Regions from separate parts of the Homo sapiens genome. Here all the other regions are linked to region 3. The links are contacts of gene promoters, found by promoter capture Hi-C in human tissues and cell types (Jung and others, 2019). All regions are on one chromosome and are shown on one strand. Each heading gives the region's core, a stretch centred on a gene start or on the middle of the fragment in contact. The rest is flanking DNA. Distances are from core to core; before and after follow the strand shown. Region 1 overlaps LOC124903162. Region 2 holds the start of LINC00332 (long intergenic non-protein coding RNA 332). Region 3 holds the start of MRPS31 (mitochondrial ribosomal protein S31).

Region 1 (3,467 bases), core at 536-3,035, 570 kb before region 3:
TTCTTTTTTTTTTTTTTTTTTTTTGAGACAGAGTCTTGCTCTCTTGCCCAGGCTAGGGTACAGTGGCACCATCTCGGGTCACTGCAACCGCCACCTCCCGGGTTCAAGTGATTCTCCTGCTTCAGCCTCCCGAGTCACTGGGATTTCAGTTGCCTGCCACCACACCCAGCTAATTTTTGTATTTTTAGTACAGACGGGATTTCACCATGTTGGCCAGGCTGGTCTTGAACCCTTGACCTCAGGTGATCCACCCACTTTGGCCTCCCAAAGTTCTGGGATTACAGGCATGAGCCACTGCACCCGGCCCAAGGGTGACATCATTTCTTATCACTCTAATATCCCTTGCCTATGATAATAAATTATCTGCCTCAAACAAGATAGGTGTGCACTTGTTCACACGGAAAGGTAGGCAGGGAGAGGCTAGAAAGAGGACAGAAAATCACAGGAAAGATGGAGACTTAGATGTTGTTTTTCACTTCGGCTGCACCAATATCTATTTTATGGCTATTTTCTTTCAACTATTCAGTACAGTGAAATAGATGTAAGATCCATTCAAAATTGAATTCAGCAAACTTAATTAACCATCTACTACTATAATATGCCAAATTCTATTAATTAAAATAGCAAACATAAATATTTTATATTTATGTATCTAGATAACTGGAAAATAATACAAAAAATCGTATGAGACAGAAAAAGTATATACTAGAAAAGTATATACTATATACTAAAAAGCATATACTATATATGAAGGACTATGATAGCAGAGAGGGATTAATTTAGGCTAAAGAGAATCAGGAAAGCTTTCTCAGAGTATGTGATTTTCTTTGACGAGGGCCCAAAAGGAGCTGAGAATTGGGTAGGCAGAGATGGATGGGAAAGGGATTTCCATGAAGAGGAACAGTGGCATGAGGGCAGGCATGGGTGTGGCAAAGAGCAATGACCTCTACAGAGACATGAATTATAGCACATTGTGCAGTGAGTCTGTTATTCACGACAAACAGGCTTTGTTAAGGATGGAAAATGAATACCTATTATGAGACGTACTTTTGTGTCTTCTTTTTAGTCACGTTAACTGATGTATAATTTACATACGGTAACATTTCCCCTAATATACTTATTTTAACATCTAGCATAGGGCCCCAATGTCTAACTGAAAACTTTGCACATTGCAAATATTCAACATATATTAACTAGGGGGATGAATGGTTTGCCATCAACATGGTATTATTTGATGTTATAAACTGACTCTTTTTTCCACAAGATCTGTTGGTAAGCCATTAAATTGACATGGTAAATAATATTAATGTTTATCTTGATAGTTGTCTGACTTTCAAAGGTCCCTTGACTGACCTCACTATCTATCTCTTCATTTATAAATGCCTGCAGGTATGTCAACTCTCTCTCCAGAGTGTCTCAGGACATTTGGTTTGAAAATAGTTGATATGATTTGGATATTTGTCCTCTCCAAATTTCATGTGAAATGTGATCCACCAAGGTTGGAGATGAGGCCTGGTGGGAGGTTGTTTTTATCATGGGCGTGGATCCTTCATTAATGGCTTGGCACATCCCTTACGGTAATGAGTTCTTGCTCTGTTAGTCCATGAAAGATCTGACTGTTAAGAAAAGCCTGACAGCTCCTCCTTTTCTCTTACTTCCTCTCTTGCCATGTGACATGCCAGCTCCCCTTGTCTCCCACCCTGAGTAAAAACTTCCCAAGGTCCTGACCAGAAGCAGATGTGAACACCATGCTTCCCGGGCAGCCTGCAGAACCGTAAACCAGATAAACCTCTTTTCCCTATAAGTTACCCAGCCTCAGGTATTCCTTTACAGCAAAGCAAAATGGACAAACACAATAGCCATAGAAAATCCTGAACAACATGTAAGACAGGTTATTTTATTTATTTCTCACTTTGTGATGAATAGACATTTTCTAACTAGTACTTTCCTTGAGGAAGAGATAGGATTTCATAGGGAGACTATATTATATTAAGGCAAAAAGACAGCAGTCACATTTTATTGCCCAAAGCCCACTTTCATTCACATTCTCTCCACTTATGGGCACACATACAAAGCAGGCATTATGTGCCCAGTTTGATAGATAAGGAAAAGAACTTTGAAGGCTGAAGTGACTTATTCAAGGTCACACACACAAACATATGGGCAGCAGAGACAGGACTAGAACTCAAGTCCTTACAGTGCTCTTGAGATGAAGTTATTAGCAACAGTCACAAAACACTTTTTAATTGAGGTAAAAAAGAGTTGAAATCACCTTTTTTATGCTGCCTTTGATAAATCTATCTGTCAGAACTCAGTGGTGGAAAACAGAAATGATTTTAGCTATTTTAAACTGAAAGGGATTTAGTACAGGAAATTCAGTGTTCATACAACTATTGGACGGGCTGGAAGGGTAGGCTAAAGGTTGGATCCAGGAATGCCTTCCAGTACGACACTGTGAACCAGCCTTCAAGGCAGCTGCTCCCTCTACCCCAGTTAGAAGGTGGGGTGCCACAGGAATGGTTGACTTCCAGAACACAACCTGGAGCTGTGAGATACAGAAACTACCAACATGCTGCTACAATTGCTTCTCTACTCACATGAAGCTTGTGGCTATACAGTAGAATTTGGCTGCAGGAAAGCACAGCATCTTCAAGACCTTGCATGCCAGCAAAAGTAGTCAAAGCTGCAGAACTCTGCCCTTTTGTCACATTTCCTCTTTTCAAATCTTGCATAGGCACATCTAATTGTGGAAACTTCTTCGCTTCCATGACTCTAGCTGCAAGGGATTCTGGGAGATACAGAGTTGGAATAAATGCCAAATGCCAATCTACTATACCTACAACCCAGAAATTTGGAAATATCAACAGTGTCTCCCAAGACAGATTAGAAATGGGATTCTTGGTCTGTGCTTTAAATGCAGACATCACAGGCAATCTGCATTCAGGTGCCACATGTGGTTGCACAGGTTGTGCATTCCTTAGAATATGAAAGGAATGAACTCCTCAGGTTGAGCACTAGTCACAGAGACTATGGATAGAGTGGCCAACCCTGAAGCTACTCAATGAATAATCTATGCCAGTCTTCTCAAGAGCTGTCTCCATCAAAGCAGGTCTTGGTTATAGCTTTGATATGGAAAGAAAGCCATATATATGACTAGATTAAGGAGCTACTTAGAAATGGACACATTGTGGAGGATCCACCACCCAAGGTGCTAAGGCCATGACCACAGGAGGAAGGTCGAGTGGAAGTTGAGATTGACTTGACAGCCTGATAGCCACAATACCTGCCCAGAGAAGTAGGTCAGGTATTTTCATCAACATTTCTTAGAGCTTAGCATAAAAACACCAGAGAATAAAAGTATCATATGTTATGATCTAAGAAAGTCAAAATCAATTATGCTGTACTGAGAAGTCTTTGAACTGAATTTGCATTATGTAAAATTAGAAATAAAAACATGTTCCATCTCT
Region 2 (3,629 bases), core at 330-2,829, 590 kb before region 3:
GTGTGATCTCGGCTCACTGCAACCTCTGCCTCCCACATTCAAGCAATTCTTCTGCATCAGCCTCCTGAGTAGCTGGGATTACAGGCGCCTGCCACCATGCCCGGCTAATTTTTTGTATTTTTAGTAGAGACAGGGTTTCACCACGTTAGCCAGGCTGGTCTTGAACTCCTGACCTCAGGTGATCCATCTGCCTCGGCCTCTCAAAGTGCTGAAAGGTTGGAGATTTTATACTCCAACTCAAGACCTTCACCAAGGCCTCCTGGGTCCACTGCCACTCTGTTTCCTTCTTTTTCTCTGTCCTCTCCCTTCTGGAGTTCACCAGTCAAACCTCTTTCTCACTCTCTACTCCTCAGCCCACACCCATCCCTGCCAGGGCTTTGTGGCCTTACTTGTACAATTTACCCACCACGGCCTCAGGTACAAGGGTTTATGACGTTTGTAACAAGTACTTGCTAATCTCTCAGAAGCCACTGGGTATATAGAATCCTGCAGTTTATCTGGATGATCAAACTATTTCATTTTTTATTCTTCTTAGTTGGCATCAGTGCCTTAGAATAGAATTTAGATGTGTGCTTTGCCTAAAAGGAAAGAGCTGACAGAGCTTGCAACTGGCAATGCATCAGTTCCACCTCAAGGAAATCAACAGGGAGAAGCTAATGAGACGGAACAGTTCTCATATTAACCAGTTAGCTATTCAGCTTAGGACAGATGTGGAAAATAAGCCCATATGAGACAAATTCATTAAAGTGAAATTATCCGTTCAACACCTTGATATCTGAGCAGACTGATGTTTCAAAATTATTATAATTATGATCATGGGGATAAAGAGAGCCAAACTTTCGAAAGAAGACTTGAAAAAAAATTAAAAATTCTAGTACTACCCTGTGAGATGAAAATAATGAGCTGGTCACAGATCCCCAGGATATCAGCAATTGCTCTAAATCCTTCTTGATGAGGAATCTGTGACTCCAAAGTCAACATTAATTCAAATGCAAATAATATCTCTTCCCCCTGAGAATCATTATTCCTGATTCAGCAGGCAATTTAATGGGAAATCTGCAGGTGCACTGCAGACTTTGAACCAGAGAAGTTGTTCCAGCTCCAGATGAAGCTTTGACTCCTGAACACATGGAATCTGACAGTCAGAGCCCAGAGATTTTAATTCTCTCACTGCCTCTGAGATGGTAGTTCCTGGGTAAAGCATATGGAACTCAGTAGGGCATAGATCTGGTACCTGCAGCCTGGAAAATATCACAAATCTCTGTCTGCTTCTCTCAAACACACACCCCCTTCTTCAGTAGCTGTTAACCACCTCGACCCTTTGCATGGAAGTTCTTCTTAAATACCACCTGCAGAAGACAGTCAGCCTCCAGCCTTGTCATCTTGAGGTGACCCACAGAGGAGAAAAGGCTGGAAGCCTCTAGAATTATCTGGCTCAGGTTGGACTGTCTGATGCTGGGAAAATTACATGGCCATTCTGTGCCTCAGTTTCTCCATCAGCAAAATAAGGAAATGAATAACATCTGCCTTGTAGGACTGTGGTGTGGTTTAAGAGCTATAACAAACTTTTCATAGGCAAGATAACAGAAGGGTTAACAGTATGAACTCTGAAACCAGACTTTCCTGGTCCAAATCTGAGCTCTGCAGCTTGCTTATTAATAACCTTGGCAAAACAACCTTTTTTTTTTAACATCGGTTACCCCATGTAAAATGGGGGTGATAATATTAACAACCTGAGTTGTTATAAAAATTAACATTTTAAAATAATTTAGACCAGTGTCTGGCTTATATACCAAAGACTGTGTAATCACTTATGGTACAAGCAGTGCTTGGGCCATAGTGAGAGCTCAGTAAATGTTATATATTAGTATAAGAATTGTTAGTATTTCCATGAGTAGTCATAACACCATAGAAGAAACAGGGAATAATATTTCCAAAGACAGAATAGAAAGAGGCAAGGTATTTTCAGTTAGAAGAAATTGCCCTCTCAGCAATTTCTTTTTACCAGGTTTTATATGTGTAATAGTCTTTTCAGGATTCTATAACAACATACTATAGACTGGCTGGCTTAAACAACAGAAATTCATTTGTTCACAGGTCTGGAGACTGGCGGTCCAAGATCAGGGTGCCAGCATGGTTGGATTCTAGTGCAGACTCCCTCCTGACTTGAAGACTATACCTTCTCATTGTGTCTTCACATGGCAGAAAGAGAGAAAGAGAGCTCTCTCTGCCTCTTCCTGTAAGACCATAGTCTTATTGGATTAGAGGCCCATTCTTATGACCTCATTTAAGCTTTATTATCTCCTGAAGGCCCCATCTCCAGATATAGTCACACTGGGGCTTAAGACTTCAACATACCAATTTTGGGAGATATGATTCAGTCTATCACGTCGATCACATTCAGTCTAACATCACAATAAAAGGCCCTGTGATGCTTTGGCATACCCTGGTGACTCAGGGATGGCCAACTAGAAATATAACAGGTACCCAAATGCCATTCTCACTGAGAAGTCTGGAAACATATTTCTGAGAAAAGCAGAAGAGAGAGAGTTTAGCCAAGGTGGGAAGCTACTACATGTGGTGAGGCCATGTGTGGCAAGCATGCGTCTAACTAGCCATGGACACATGAAGTCCTTCAGTGCTTAACAATGCTGAGTCATATATTAGATTATGTTCCAGAATCCTACACCCACAGCATGTGAGGCAGATAAGCTGTACTTACCCAAGAAATGTAAACACCACAATAGTCCTTGGTTGTCAATCTGGTAGGGTCACGAAGACCTGCCTGGTATCAGTGTTTTTTAAAGCAACAGCTGAAAAAGTGACACCTAACTAGTCAAAGAACAGAGTTACAAGAGACATGCTGATTCAACGAATGGGTAATTATATATATTTGTTTTATTTGCTAAATCTATCCCTAAAATTTGTGTGCAGAAAAAAAAAAGGAGAAGTAAATTATGATGAATATTCGGTTAAAACAATCCTGCAGCAAATCTGAAAAAATCTATGGAAATAGAAACAATCACCCCTCATTTTATATTTTGGGGTTTGTTCTGTTATTATTATAATTGGATAGATACATTGAGTTTACATAAGCCAGGATTTATATTTTTTATGAGGGTCTTTACTTGACTTTTTTTATTCTAGACTTCTTTTATTCTAGATTTTACTAGTAAGAATTTAAAGATGTTACAAGGTAAGTGAGAGTTTAGATAAAGTTCTATCATACAGAACTTTCTCTTGGTTATTTCAGGGCAAATGAGTTTTAAAGTACCTGCACAGTAAATATTAATCACTGCATCTTGCCACATCTTGCAGATTTGCATTGTCAAAGGTTACAATTTTATCATGATAGTCTTACAATGTGATTAGAATCCTGTATTAGCTAAAGCCATTTTATTTTCAAGGACAAAATTTAAAGCAAAGAGGGGAAAATATATGAATGAAAAGAAGAAAAGAAAAATAATTTGTCTCCTTGACCTTCAGTGTTAGGGAGAATGACCAGAAAAAAACACAATAATGTTCGCCTTTGCTTCTAGGTCAAATTAATCTCCAAGGTTTTTCTAACTCATTATCAATTTCAAAAAATAAAAATATATAAAATGAAGAAATAGATCACAGCTGCTTAT
Region 3 (3,845 bases), core at 1,181-3,680:
CAGGAGACACTTGAGAATTTGCATTTCTAACAAACTCCCAGGTGACGCTAACGCTGCTGGTCAGAGGACCACGTTACAGTAGCTATGTATGTTACTTAATCCTTACACTTTAACAGAACAGGTTTCATTATTCTCACTTTACAGTACAAACTGTTGCCCACAGAAGTTAAAGTAGTGGTTATGAATCTCTACAGGTTATACAAATCACATAGGGAGCTGACTTAAAACACAATTCTTAGTTTGGAATTTAACATTTTAACTAAACCCCAGGTGATTCCCATGCAGGTGAGCTCAAGAGCCTGTATCAGACCCTGGGTTAAATATTGTATCAAGTTCAGCTGGGCATGGTGGTGCACGCCTGTAATTCCAGCAGTTTGGGAGGCGGAGGTGGGCGGATCATGAGGTCAGGAGTTCAAGACCAGCCTGGCCAATATGGTGAAATCCAGTCTCTACTAAAAATACAAAAATTAGCCAGGTGTGGTGGTGGGTGCCTGTAGTCCCAGCTACTTGGGAGGCTGAGGCAGAAGAATCGCTTGAACCCAGGGAGCAGAGGTTGCAGTGAGCCGAGATCACACACTGCACTCCAGCCTAAGCGACAGAGCAAGACTCTGTCCATATATATATATATATATATATATATATATATATATATATATATATATTATCAAGTTCTCAAAGCCAGAAAATGGCAGCCGCAGGTTAAGGATACTTACATGAAAGAGAAAATGGCAATTTCAAAAAATGCTGAAACTATTTGATCTGCTTATGAAAACGTCAGAGGCTATCAAATCAGGCACTTAAAAATTAGAATAAAAAACCAACTGCATAACTAGTATCCTCATAATCAGTACACAGGACTCTCATTATAATATTCAATATATGGTACAATCTATTTAAGAAAATGGTCATTATTTTACATTTAAAGTTACTATTCAAGGTATTTTAATAGAAAAGTGGTAATCAGGGGAATGAATCTCACATGTAATCTTTACTACAATGTTTTCTTTCAAGACTGCTATCATACCACAGAAAACAATCTACATTATAGGAAAATCACGTCTAAGTAACTCCCTAGCACTAAAAATAATAAACCTCTCGACCTAACCTCCCACCTGAGTTTGTTTCCACTGACAGCAGCTCATCAGTACTTCAAATGCAACACCTTCAACACCACATTCAAGACTCCTCTTTCAGACTGACTTTCCATTTTTCACACTTTCTATATTAAAAGGCCCCCTAACATAAACAGGTATTTGTTGTTTTCTAAAAATTATAATATATGGAAAAATCTTTCTCAAGCCTGGCTCCGCATTCTTCTGTTAACATTAAGGATACCCTAATACTCCAACGCAGCCAGTTGAAATTTTTGCTATCTCTGACTACCCTACCATTATCCCATGACGTCACATCCCTTTAATTCTACCTGTGCAATTTTTCTCCTCCATTCAGCTGGTCCTTCCCATCTTCACTGCTACTAACCTGCTTCAGCACTGTACTTAACCAAACTGCCTTCTGAGTGTTACGCATGGAATTTATGCAGCGGAATTAGGTTTTCATAATAAAGTTCTCGGAGGATAAATACCAAAACCAAGTATGCCACAATTCCCTTTTTTCCTGGCTAACTTCAACCAGTGGTCCTCCTTCAGATTTCGTCAGACTTTTCCAGAAACGATATCCTGAGTCTCCCCTATAATGGTTAGGTGTCCCTATTTGCTATCCCAGCAAGTACTCATTCATGTTGGCTGAATAGTGTACTCTGTTTACCTACACTATCTCAGCTATTACTTCACTACATAGCACTTGAATTGTCTACTTTCTGGAACTACACGCTCCGTGATGGCAGGACTGTCTCACTTGGGGTTTACAACCAGTACTGGCACGCTGTTTTTCGAGTTTTTCAGTAATGAACTAAAGAATAAATGAAGGAAAACAAATGAGACTATCAAATAAATCTTGGGAGGCAAAAGATAAAAACCTGGGTAAACTGACAGGAGATGATGACAAGAGGAATGAGGCGCGGCGTGTAGTAGAGCACAGCGACCAGGTTTGTAATCGTAGCTCTGTTTTCACGCACACTATGACCTTGGGCAAGTCATCTTTTCTTTCTGGGATTTCTCTTTCCTCAGATTTAAAGCAATAGCTTCTAAGACCCAGCAGGTGGTAACATCGACCCCAGGAAGTCGGAGGATGTACAGGACGGGGCACGGGGTTGCCTGAGGACCTACCGGGCCAACAGCGCTGAACTGCGGTACCTGACTGTTCCGTGCCGAACAGTGAGTAGCATAATCGCAGCCGCTGATGTCTCCGGGCTTCCAGAGGACAAAGGGTGGCGGGAAAGGGGGCGAAGAGGTAGGAACGTCGAGACTCTAGGAAACATCGCCGAGACACGAAATGAACCAAGAACACAACTGAAATGGTGCGTCCCGCTGCCAAACACGTCCCCGCCCTCTCTTCCGCTTCCGGCCTGGCGCCTTCCTCCCCCTTTGCGCTCCGGTGGGCTACAGGGGCGGGTAACTGTGTTCCGGACTCGCCCGCGGCCGGGCGGAGCCAGTTGCCTCCAAGCGACCCGACCCACCCCGCGATTGTAGTCCTAGAGGCGGAGTCCTCGCCAGAGTTCAGCAAAGGTTCGCTGGCCGAGGCGGGTCCCAGACCGGCGAACCCGACAGTGGAGGGCGTGACCAGTTGTGCAAAAACTACAGATGGTGCCAGTGAGATCAGTCTCTTCTTTAACAGACAATATTTTGCGATGTTTGGAGGGGAAGGGTCTACAGCGTTCACCACGTTCTCAAAATGCGCCATGGCCACCAAAGAGGTTTAAAAAAAATTACTAAAAGACCTGCTGCCCTATGAATTAGCGTTTCCTTTCAGTCTTTATTTTTGATGTAGAGTCAAAATGAGACATAGGTTTCATTTTTCAAAAATAGCTTTATGGCCGGGCACGGTGGCTCACGCCTGTAATCCCAGCACTTTGGGAGGCCGAGGCGGGTGGGTCACTTGAGGTCACGGGTGCGAGACCAGCCTGGCCAACATGGTGAAACCCCATCTCTACTAAAAAAAAAAAAAAAAAAAAAAAATACAAACACACACACACACACACACACACAATTAGCCGGCCGTGGTGGCGGGCGCCTGTAATCCCAGCTACTGGGGAGGCTGAGGCAGGAGAAGCGCTTGAACTCGGGAGGTGGGGGCTGCAGTGAGCCGAGATCGCGCCATTGCACTCCAGCTTGGGCTACAGGGCGAGATTCTTTGTCTCAAAAAAACAAAAAAGAAAAGAAAAAAAGATTTACGCCGGGGGCACAGTGGCTCATACCTGTAATCCCAGTACTTACGGAAGCCGAGGCGGGCAGATCACTTGAGGCCAGGGGTGAAGACCAGCCTGGTCAACATAGTGAAACCCTGACTCTACTAAAAATGCAAAAATTAACCTGGCGTGGTGGCGAGTGCCTATAATCCCAGCTACTCGGGAGGCTGAGGCAGGAGAATAGCTTGAACCCGGGAGGCGGAAGCTGCAGTGAGCCAAGATTGTGCCACTGCACTCCAGCCTGGGCAACAGAGTGAGACCCCGTCTCAAAAAAAAAAAAGGATGAAAAGATGCAAGAGAGAGACTTGGCTTTTACCTGTCCCTCATGAAACAGGGAACTGTGACCCCAGAAGAGATGTGGGGTTCCCAAACTTGGAAGGGGATGAGAATAAATCTGGTGGGAAATGTTGGCTAATAGGACACATGGGAACCACTAGCCTAAAATTCCATAAAGGCATTCCAAAGTTTACATCAACATTTTCCCTGTCCTCTCAAAAAATAATCAAGGTGGGGAGGTGAGTTTTTGTGATACTAAAACACA

Evidence for each region. Contacts are between HindIII fragments. The study calls those that stand out against the background at their distance.
Region 1: a fragment that was not itself captured here is called in contact with the fragment with the promoter of MRPS31 in region 3 in 1 of the 25 tissues and cell types used here (mesendoderm cells).
Region 2: a fragment that was not itself captured here is called in contact with the fragment with the promoter of MRPS31 in region 3 in 2 of the 25 tissues and cell types used here (H1 embryonic stem cells and dorsolateral prefrontal cortex).

Annotation. Positions count from the first base shown.
Region 1 is chr13:40,201,731-40,205,197 of GRCh38, forward strand. The region is part of intron 1 of LOC124903162; the gene reads right to left. It overlaps LINC00548 (long intergenic non-protein coding RNA 548), which reads right to left. Exons shown (of 6, transcript NR_033877.1): 3 at 2,598-2,788. Among named protein-coding and RNA genes, the nearest start is that of LINC00548, 17 kb to the right of the region's middle. The HindIII fragment of the contact is 4,294 bases long and covers 1-3,467 here.
Region 2 is chr13:40,178,984-40,182,612 of GRCh38, forward strand. All of the region lies in intron 1 of LOC124903162, which reads right to left. It overlaps LINC00332 (long intergenic non-protein coding RNA 332), which reads left to right and starts at 2,826. Exons shown (of 4, transcript NR_046870.1): 1 at 2,826-2,879. The HindIII fragment of the contact is 5,128 bases long and covers 1-3,629 here.
Region 3 is chr13:40,768,760-40,772,604 of GRCh38, forward strand. MRPS31 (mitochondrial ribosomal protein S31) reads right to left here and starts at 2,431. Exons shown (of 7, transcript NM_005830.4): 1 at 2,226-2,431. The coding sequence starts at 2,377. RefSeq lists an enhancer at 2,320-2,489. The HindIII fragment of the contact is 6,562 bases long and covers 1-3,845 here.